Linked DNA regions of Homo sapiens: region 1 is linked to region 2. The links are contacts of gene promoters, found by promoter capture Hi-C in human tissues and cell types (Jung and others, 2019). All regions are on one chromosome and are shown on one strand. Each heading gives the region's core, a stretch centred on a gene start or on the middle of the fragment in contact. The rest is flanking DNA. Distances are from core to core; before and after follow the strand shown.

Region 1 (4,645 bases), core at 1,443-3,942, 330 kb before region 2:
TCACTGAGAGGGGAGAGGGTCCTTGGTGGGAACCAGGGCGGTTGTGGAAGGAAGAGTCAGGGCGTGGAGCAGAGCAGAGCGGGAGTTGGGGTGGGGAGGCCAGTTCATGCCTCATCAACATGCCTGTGTGAGTGTCCTTCTTGCGGGCGGTGGAGCTGGCCTCAGGGTACACTGCAGGTGACTCAGAGCTCCAATGGGAGGGTGGCTCTGCCTGAGGGAGCTGCACATGCTCATTGGGCCATCGTCTGCTGAGGAGGGGGCAACAATAACCTCAACACATGGCGGAGGTGTTTTGGGATGCATCCTATTGCACATTTGGGCAGGTTGTTGCCTGACTTATTTCTTTAACGCATACCTAGCACTTCCTGTATGTCCAGTGCCTTATAATATTAACTACTATCATCCTCAGGGCTACCCGTGAGGTCGGCACTGTCCCCACCCTTTGTGCAAAGGAAGGATAGGGAGGCGCTGCCAGATGGGTTGAGGGCAGACCGGGGCAGCTTGCCTCAGGCCTCCCTGGCCTTAGCAGGCTTTAAGTTTGATGCCCTGTGCTCCTTCCCTAGGAAGCTCAGTTTGCCAGTTTTTTGCTTTATCTTAGTCTCATTCAGATTACAAGGACTGGGACTGGACTCCTGTTGCCAGTTTCTCAATTTGGAATAGGAAGGAGGTGAGGAACAACAGGCCCATGCTGGGCAGAAGCCCTGCAGACCAGGCCAACAGTGGGCCTCTCCTCACTGCCTGGCCCTGTCTGTGCACCTTCGTCCTGGCCACAGCCTCTCAGAGCCCCTCCTTTATGAAGAGGTTACGCTTTAGGGGAGGGAGTGCCTCTCCCAAGACCCAGAGCTGGTGAGTGGCTAGGTTGGAATTTGAGCCCAGGTCCCTCCTCCCCTGTCTGCTTCCTGCCAGGCCCAGCTGCCTGCCCCAGCACACGCCTTCTCCCAGGCACCCTGGCCTCCACTGCCAGGACGTGCCTGTTTGAGGCCTGGATTCCCCCATGGCTGCCACGCTGATTCTCCGTTCTGCACGTCGTGTCCCATCAAAATGCATGACAGTACCACTCCTTGTGTTAAAAAGAGCCAGTTATTGTGCCTGGCAGTGATGACTGCCCACTGCACACAAAAGTGGACGCCGTTGTCTCTGCTCTCAGGGTGTTCTTAGTATAGTGGGGCTGGCACACAGAAACCAGAGATTCCTCCAGGAAGTGCCACAGACATGGGTGAGGTGGCTACAGGGTTTCTGTGCAGCCGACAGCAGGGGTGCCTGGGTGGAAGCAGGGTGGGAGGCCCTAACAGGCCTGATGGGATAGTCAGGCAATGTGCCAGGTAGTAGGTCATCATCCCTGGGGCCCTGGGGAGAGTGTGTGGGGCAGGCGCAGGAGCAGGCTCCTCAGTGGGCTCCTGGACAGGCTGCCTGCTCTGCTGGTGAGGAGCGAGGCTCAAAGCAAGCAGGGGCCTGGGTTGCTTCCCACACTCAGTGGCAGTTGCTCACTGGCAGTCATGTGACCTGGGGAGCTGGCGAGGGCGTGGGGGTAGGAATGGGAACGGGAGACAGAGGCCCTTTGGGAGGAATTGCCACAGATGCAGTGGGAGTTGGGGCAAAGATTTGAACTTTGGAGAATTAAAGGTGGCAGTCAGAAAGTGAAGGGAGTTCCCAAGTTTCTGGGATGGGCACTTGGTGCTGGGAGATGAAGACACGAAGAGCTTTTCTTGATGTATCCCTGCTGGCTGCTCAGGCAGGGTCGGGCAATGCCATTAAGACACACTGTGTTCTGGGAACAGTTCTGGACAGTAAGGACATCCTCAGACCCCTTAGTGGGGGAGCTCCAAGGGCCTGTAATGATGAATCGGTCCCCTGGGAGGCTTCAGTCTAAGCTAGATACCAGTTGAACCCTGACTGAGTACACAGACATAGCTATGGCAACCAGCTAGACCATGGCCAAAGGCAGAGCATTGGAGCCCAGTTCACAGCAAGGGACTGTGTGCTCTGAGCCGGTAACAGTCCTTGTGTTCAGAGGTCTGGCTGGTCGCAACCAGGGAGTGGCCCCCAGCCCCCTTCCTCAGCTAGAGCGAGCACCACCCAGGCAGCCTTGGGTTCTTTGGTGGCCGCCTCATAGGCCTGTACTGTTTGTGAACCTGTTGCTTATGTTGGACAGGACTGTGGCAGGACAGCCATCAAGGGTCTTCCCTTGTGAGCTGACACCAGTCTGCTCTTTGTCCTCCTCTGGCTGGACAGGCCCTCGTCTTCCCGGCTTGCTTGTGTGGGGGAAGAGCTCACTGTGACATGTGGGTTCTCTGTTCTTTGTCTCAGGCTGTGCTCCTTACTCCATGTTGGGGGCTGTCTCCTTGTGTGATAGTTTCCTTTCATTTCGTGACAGTGGCTCGAAGGGTTTTGTTTTCAGGAGACAGAGACTGAGGAGTAGCCATTCGGGTCTGGCTGCTCAGGAAGGCATGCTGGGGATGGCAGCAGAGCCCAGCTCAGGGAGATCAGAAGGGGGCTTTGGGAGCAGCCAGTGCTGTTCTGAAGGTGGGCCTGGGTCCTGCCTGCAGCCTCCCGCAGCGGGTGTGTTAGGTCTAAGGGAGGAAGGAAGGGGACTTGACCTCAGCAGGAGTGTGAAATGGGTACCCTCCTGGAGTCAATGTCCAGGCAGGGGATGCCTCTGAAAAGCGCCAGGCCAGCTGGAGAGGAAAGGGCAGGCATCTGCAGGGAAGTGTGGGGGATTAGCTGCAGAGTTCCTGGGTTCTTTTTCGCTTTGTCTCTATTTTGTGACACTTGATCTTCAAACTAGAAACAGGAGCAAAGACATTTTCAAAAATACAGTTGTCAGAACTGCAAAACCACACAGGGTCTGTTACTGGCCACCAAACCTGCTGGGCCTCCCTGGGTGGATGCTGTGGGAGAGATGTGGGAGTGACATGGCACAGTGCTGCTGTTCTGAGCGGTAGCCTTGCTGGAGGAGCGCCTTGCCGGAGGAGCACCTTGCTCCTTGGCCCCACTCTGACCCTCCGAAGCTCATGTGGAACTGGACATTTACCCCAACTCGGTTTCCTGGTGTTGGCCTGTCAAGACTTGCCTGTTTCTGGCCTCCAGCTTGGTCCATGCTCCTCAGGCTCTGAGTAGCTGACGGTGCCCACAGTGTCCATGTCATCTGTGACATTACCCAGGACAGGACAGGGCCCGTCTGCCAGTACATCCCCTGGTGTATGGTGCCACCTTGCCTTCAGCTCACCAAGCATATTTCTTCAACCTGGTCATCCCACCACCTCAGAGCTATTGCACTAAGCTGTGTTTCTAGATCTTGTCTCTCTGACTGTGCCAGGTGTCTCTGCTGCACCAAGACAGTGTCTGTCTGGGGCCTGCCAGTCTGCTGACACTCTCAAAAACGGCCAGTAGCAGCTCAAAAGGACTGCTTTTGTATCAAAGCCTGGCTTTGCTCTCTGATCGCTGCTGGTGGGCACAGAGCCCATCTGTGTAACTGGTTGTCACTCCCCAGACTCTTCTGCACCCTTCTTCCTCTCTGACTCCTGGCCACATCTGCCACCCACAGCCTCCCCACTCCTTACACAGCCAGCCTCCAGGCCGTCCTGCTTGGCCTGCAAATGCTCCCCTGCTGTTTCTACTGCTCTTCCCTGAGTCTCCCTATTGGTCCCAGTGCTTTGGGAGGCCAAGGTGGAGGATCACTTAAGGCCAGGAGTTTGAGACCAGCCTGGGCAACAAAGCAAGACCCTGTCTCTACAAAAAAAGTAAAAAATAAAAAAATTAGCCAGGCGTGGTGGCGCATGCCTGTAGTCCCAGCTATTTGGGAGGCTGAGGTGAGAGGATACTTGAGCCCAGGAGTTTGAAGCTGCAGTGAGCTGTGTTTGCCCCACTGCGCTGCACCTGTGAGAGAGTGAGACATTGTCTCAAAAAACAAAAGAAGAAAAAGAAAAAAGGAAGGTGGGAAGAACAAGTATGCCTTTGAAGGGCATACCTGCCTTGAGGGGCACAGATGAGGCAACCTTCAGAAAACAGGCCTGTGCAGCCACTTCTATCAGAAATGCTCACTGACTTCTTGGGGCCTAGCAGCTATCGTCTCAGCCTCTGGGTGTGGAGACCCTGCCCCATGCTAACCTGAGAGCATGAGTACAGGGTCCTCCCAGCCCACCCATGCCTCGCTTCCCCAGGACTCTGACCCAGTGCCGCGCGTGAGTTGGTTGTCATTATCCTCCTGGATTGTTAACTCTCTCATCTTTTGTGGCCCTGGTGACCTTTCTTACTTGTCTGTTCCACACCTGGATGCCTTGTGAGCAGAAACCCCTTGCTGCCTCCTCGCCTCCCTTCAGGCTTCAGGAAGCAGACAGGGAGGTAGGAACTCCAAGAGTGCAGGAGTCTCATTCTGTCGCCCAGGCTGGAGTGCAGTAGTGCCATCTTGGCTCACTGCAACCTCTGCCTCCAGGGTTCAAGCGATTCTCCTGCCTCAGCCTCCCGAGTAGCTGGGACCACAGGTGCCTGCCACCACACCCGACTAATTTTTGTATTTTTAGTGGAGACAGGGTTTCACCACGTTAGCCAGGCTGGTCTCAAACTCCTGACCTCAGGTGATCCACCTGCCTCGGCCTCCCAAAGTGCTGGGATTACAGACCTGAGCCATCGTGCCCAGCCCAAGAGT
Region 2 (4,653 bases), core at 1,115-3,614:
TTTTTTTGAGACAGTTTTGCTCTTGTCACCCAGGCTGAAGTGCAATGGCGCAATCTTGGCTCACTGCAACCTCTGCCTCTCAGGTTCAAGCGATTCTCCTGCCTCAGCCTCCCAAGTAGCTGGGATTAGAGGCACGTGCCACCACACCTGGCTAATGTTGGGTTTTTAGCAGAGACAGGGTTTCACCATGTTGGCCAGGCTGGTCTCAAACTCCGACCTCAAGTGATCTGCCTGTCTCAGCCTCCCAAAGTGCTGGGATTACAGGCATGAGCCACCGTGCCCCATCATAAAATATAATCTTGACAACTGAAGCAGTTATTACTACAAAGCTAAGAATGTTGCAATTACAGAATGTTCTCGTGACTAGTGAACATGGCTGAAGAAGCAAATTGAGCTCAAGGTGCCCTTTTCTGAGTTACTGAGTGGAAAGGGTGCTACCACTGCTGGAGCTGCAGGACCAGCTTCTTAAAGATCATCCAATTCACTGCATTCTCTTCTCTCTCCTCCCAGAATCCAGCAATCAGTCATAAGATATATTTGTTGGCTCTCCTGCTAAGAAGCGAATGTGCTGACTAGCTAGCATGAGTTTGATTCAATAAAACAGCACTACACTCCATTAGTCAGACTATCTAATGATAACAGTGCTCATACATTAGGTACCCACGTGCCTTTTTGTTGCTCTTCACAATACTCCTATGAAGTACTACCTTGTATTTGACAGAAGATAGCAAAGTATCAGAGAAGGGAACTGACCTGTCTAGAGTCACACTAGTGAAAGCAAGTGATACAGGATTTAAATTCAGAGGTTCCATTTTCCAAACTCATGTCCTTTCCATTGCATTGTACTCCCTCTTTAGCTAGAAGTCAGGTTAGCACCAATCTGCCGGGACCTTCTCACCCCGAAGGTGCATGATAAAATCAAATATGAGAACCGACAAGGCCAAGGACCAGGTCACTCTGCCAAAAGTGCCTAAAACAGCCTTTCAGCTTCATCCATCAGCAGACAGCCACAAAACCACTCCCAACTGCAGCAGGCTGGTCTCCGGTCACCACTGTCTTATCTTGTCGGAAAACATCCTCTCTCCATGTGCCAAAAAGTTGAGTGGGAAAATAATTCCATCCTTTCAGAGCTAAACACTGTGCTGAGTCTCATCGCACACGGGTGGGCAAAGAAAGTTGACATTTACTGCTCACCCACTCTGTGCCTTGACCTGTGCAAGATGCTTTATGCTAGAACTCATTTAATTCTCAAGAACAACCTCATTTTACAGATAAGGATACAGAGGCTCTAAGAGTTAAATTTACCCAAGAGGACATGGTAAGTAAGTGCCAGTGCAGGGAACAAATTCAGGTCCCACTCTAAAATCTGTCTCTTTCCAGATCTCAAGGCACACCACTGAGTTGCCTTTCACCTTTCTCCCAAGATGAGGATTGCTCTGGCATGACTTCACCTTTCTCTTCTGAAGCAATTCCAAGTTCACTTCTCTGCCCACTGACAGTTCACTCTCCTTTCCCTGCCACTGTCCCTTCTGCAAACGCACAATCTTTTACCCAACCTAACGCCCCCAGCCTCGTAGAATAACACTGCGCAGTTGGTTTACAGTCACAAAGCACTTTCAAGACAGTGTTTCGTCTCCTGGTCACCACAGTCCGGTGAAGCCGGCAAAGCAGATAAAAGCATCCCCATTTTACAAGAAAGCCATCTTCCCAAGGTCGCGGAATAAAAAGCAGGTGAAATCGGAAGCAGAACCCCAGGTCTTGACCCCTGGTCCTCGGCTCATCCCACTGCTCCGCACAGCCGCCCACGATCCAGCCTCCACCTCCGCGATGTCACAAGATGCTCCCTGGGCCAGCAGCTCACATCCCCCACCCCCATCCCACAACCACCCACCTGCAGCGGCCCTGCAGGCCCCGCCGACCCTTCCCCCACGGTCCCTCTCTCTTCACCAGCCCCTCCCACTAGGGCCTCCTTCCCCCGCTAGATCCCTCCGCTCAGGCGCCCCCTCCCGCACAGGCTGCCGGCGAGCCCAGCCTCGGCCTCCCACAGACCCTCGTCCCGCCTCCACGCTTCGTCACCCCAGCCCCTCCTCCTGTCAGCCCGCGGCCCAGCCCGCCGACGTTACCTTCTCCAAGGATGCTGGTCTCTGCACCGCCAGGGAGCGGGCCAGTGACAGGACCGTGTTGAAATAGAAGCCCCGCGAGGCGCTGGAGCCGGAGCCGGAGCAGCCGCCGCCGCCTCCGCCTCCGCCTCCGCCTCCCCGGGCCGGGGCCGCCGCCATCACCTCACGAGCCGCGGCGCTGCCCGCCGGCTCCCCGCTCCTGGCCCGCGAGCGCCCGACCTCAGGGCGCAGGCGTAGGTGCATCCGGCTTTCCCGCCACGTGACCTCTCAGTTGCTGACACTAGATAGGGCGTGGCTGCGGGGCGGGCCCACCGCTGCAGGGGAGAGAGGGGATGGACAGTAGGCTGCGGTTGCGCGCGCCGGATGTGGGCCCCCCCCAGCCGACCTGCGCGATGGTCGGCTCCGAGGGCGGGGCCACCTGCGCGCGACGCGCGGAAGGAGTTCGCGCGACGACCGCGGGGTCGGCGGGCGGGGCGAGGCCCTGGACGGCGGCGGCAGTGGGGCTCCTCCTTCTGTTTCCCAGACCGAGAGCCGCGCCGGCACCATGTCAGCTTACCCTAAAAGCTACAATCCGTTCGACGACGACGGGGAGGACGAAGGCGCCCGGCCGGCCCCTTGGAGGGACGCCCGAGACCTCCCCGACGGGCCCGACGCGCCCGCGGACAGGCAGCAGTACTTGCGGCAGGAGGTCCTCCGCAGGGCTGAGGCCACGGCCGCCAGCACCAGCAGGTCCCTGGCCCTCATGTACGAGTCCGAGAAGGTTGGGGTCGCCTCTTCCGAGGTGAGCCTGGGGCAGGGCTGGTGTGGACTCGCCGGTCTCTGTGCTGTCAAACGGAGACGAGAAATGTTTTGCTCACAATCTTTTGAGAATTCTCAAGTTGCCTAGCATAGATTCTTGCACCTTAGTGACTCGATGGTGGTAACAATCTGTTAACTATGTAAAGGTATGTGCATCTGGAGTACTTGAAGAGGGCAGTTTACCCCAGAAATCTTCCTTAGCTATTAGTCTGCTTCGTTGATTTTTTTTTTCTTACGCCTAGCTCACGGGGAAACGCCAGATTATTTTCTGTCCAGGTGAGTAAAAATTCTGAACAGCAGGTCCTAGGTTTGGGAAATGGAGAGTCCGTTTCTTCGACATTATTTCCTGTGCAAAATCTGGCACAGGGTTTTGGCCATTCCTTCCGGAGTGAGCCAGAAAGAGAGGACTATGTGCCTGCGAGTGTCAGGTGATACCCTGAAGCATCAGGGCAGGTGGTCCACGAGTTCTTCCCGCATCATTGACATCTCCACCTAACCAACCAATAGAGGTATTGAAGTCCCTTCAGCCCAGACAGCTGCCTAGTTGACCAAAGCCTGGGTTTGATTGAGTCCAGGGTCTTACCTTTACTTCCCAAATCCTAGACAAATAGTGTGCGGGTTAAGAGTTTGTTGCTCCAACTCATCTTCATCAGTTCTTCCCATCCTTAGATTTCAGAGAGTAGTACCTTCAATAACAATTATTCTGGCCGAGCGCAGTGACTCACGCCTGTAATCCCAGCACTTTGGGAGGCCTAGGCGTCGGATCGCCTGAGCTCAGGAGTTCGAGACCCGCCTGGGCAACATGGTGAAACCCTGTCTCCACTAAAATTAAAAAAAAAAAAAAACTAGCCGGGTGTGGCGGTGCGCCTGTAGTCGCAGCTACTCAGGAGGCTGAGGTAGGAGAATCGCTTGTACCCGGGAGGCAGAGGTTGCAGTTAGCTGAGATCGTGCTGCTGCACTCCAGCATGGGCAACAGACCGAGATCCTGGAGGGTCTTTTTCTTTTTCTTTTTTTTTTTTTTTTGAGATGGAATCTCGCTCTGTCGCCCTTGCTTGGGTACAGTGGCATGATCTGGGCTCACTGCAACTTCCGCCTCCGGGATTCAGACGATTCTCCTGCCTCAGCCTCCCGAGTAGCTGGGACTACAGGTGCGCCGCCACACCCGGCTAATTTTTTTTGTATTTGTAGTGGAGACAGGGTTTTGCCCCGTTGGCCAGGCTGGTCTGGAACTCCTGACCTCAGGCAGTCCGCCCGCTTTGGCCTCCCAAAGGGCTGGGATTACAGGCGTGAGCCACCATACCGGTCGAGAATGATTCTTTATTGTACACCACAGTCTCTCTTCAGCCTGCTAATGAAACAGTTTTGTTTGGACAGAGAAAAAAAAAGGTTTAAAAAAATGTATAAGCCAGGCGCGGTTGTACTTCTGTAATCCCAACAATTTGTAAGGCTGAGGTAGGCAGATCATTTTAGCCCAGGAGTTTGAGACCAGCAGGGGTAACTGCGTCTCTACAAAATTTGAAAAATTAGCCAGGCATGGTGGCACACACATGTGAGTGCAGCTACTGAGGAGGCTGAGGCAGGAGGACCGCTTGAGCCCAGGATGTCAAGGTTGCAGTGAGCCATGTTCATACCACTGCACTCCAGCTTGGGCGACAGAGCAACACGCTATCATTTCCCCTTGCTGTTTTCTTGGGTTAATTCCCTTCCCCACCTCTCTCTGTTCATGTATCCCTCA

Evidence for each region. The method cuts DNA at HindIII sites, captures the fragments that hold promoters and counts their contacts. A contact is called where the count stands out against the background at its distance.
Region 1: a contact is called between a fragment that was not itself captured here and the fragment with the promoter of PI4KA in region 2, in 1 of the 25 tissues and cell types used here (spleen).

Annotation. Positions count from the first base shown.
Region 1 is chr22:20,530,620-20,535,264 of GRCh38, forward strand. The region is part of intron 1 of MED15 (mediator complex subunit 15); the gene reads left to right. Among named protein-coding and RNA genes, the nearest start is that of MED15, 25 kb to the left of the region's middle. RefSeq lists an enhancer at 1-528. The HindIII fragment of the contact is 8,855 bases long and covers 1-4,645 here.
Region 2 is chr22:20,856,447-20,861,099 of GRCh38, forward strand. It overlaps PI4KA (phosphatidylinositol 4-kinase alpha), which reads right to left and starts at 2,365. Exons shown (of 55, transcript NM_058004.4): 1 at 2,124-2,365. The coding sequence starts at 2,279. SNAP29 (synaptosome associated protein 29) reads left to right here and starts at 2,561. Exons shown (of 5, transcript NM_004782.4): 1 at 2,561-2,901. The coding sequence starts at 2,665. RefSeq lists silencers at 1,974-2,023, 2,044-2,803 and an enhancer at 2,483-3,292. The HindIII fragment of the contact is 12,507 bases long and covers 1-4,653 here.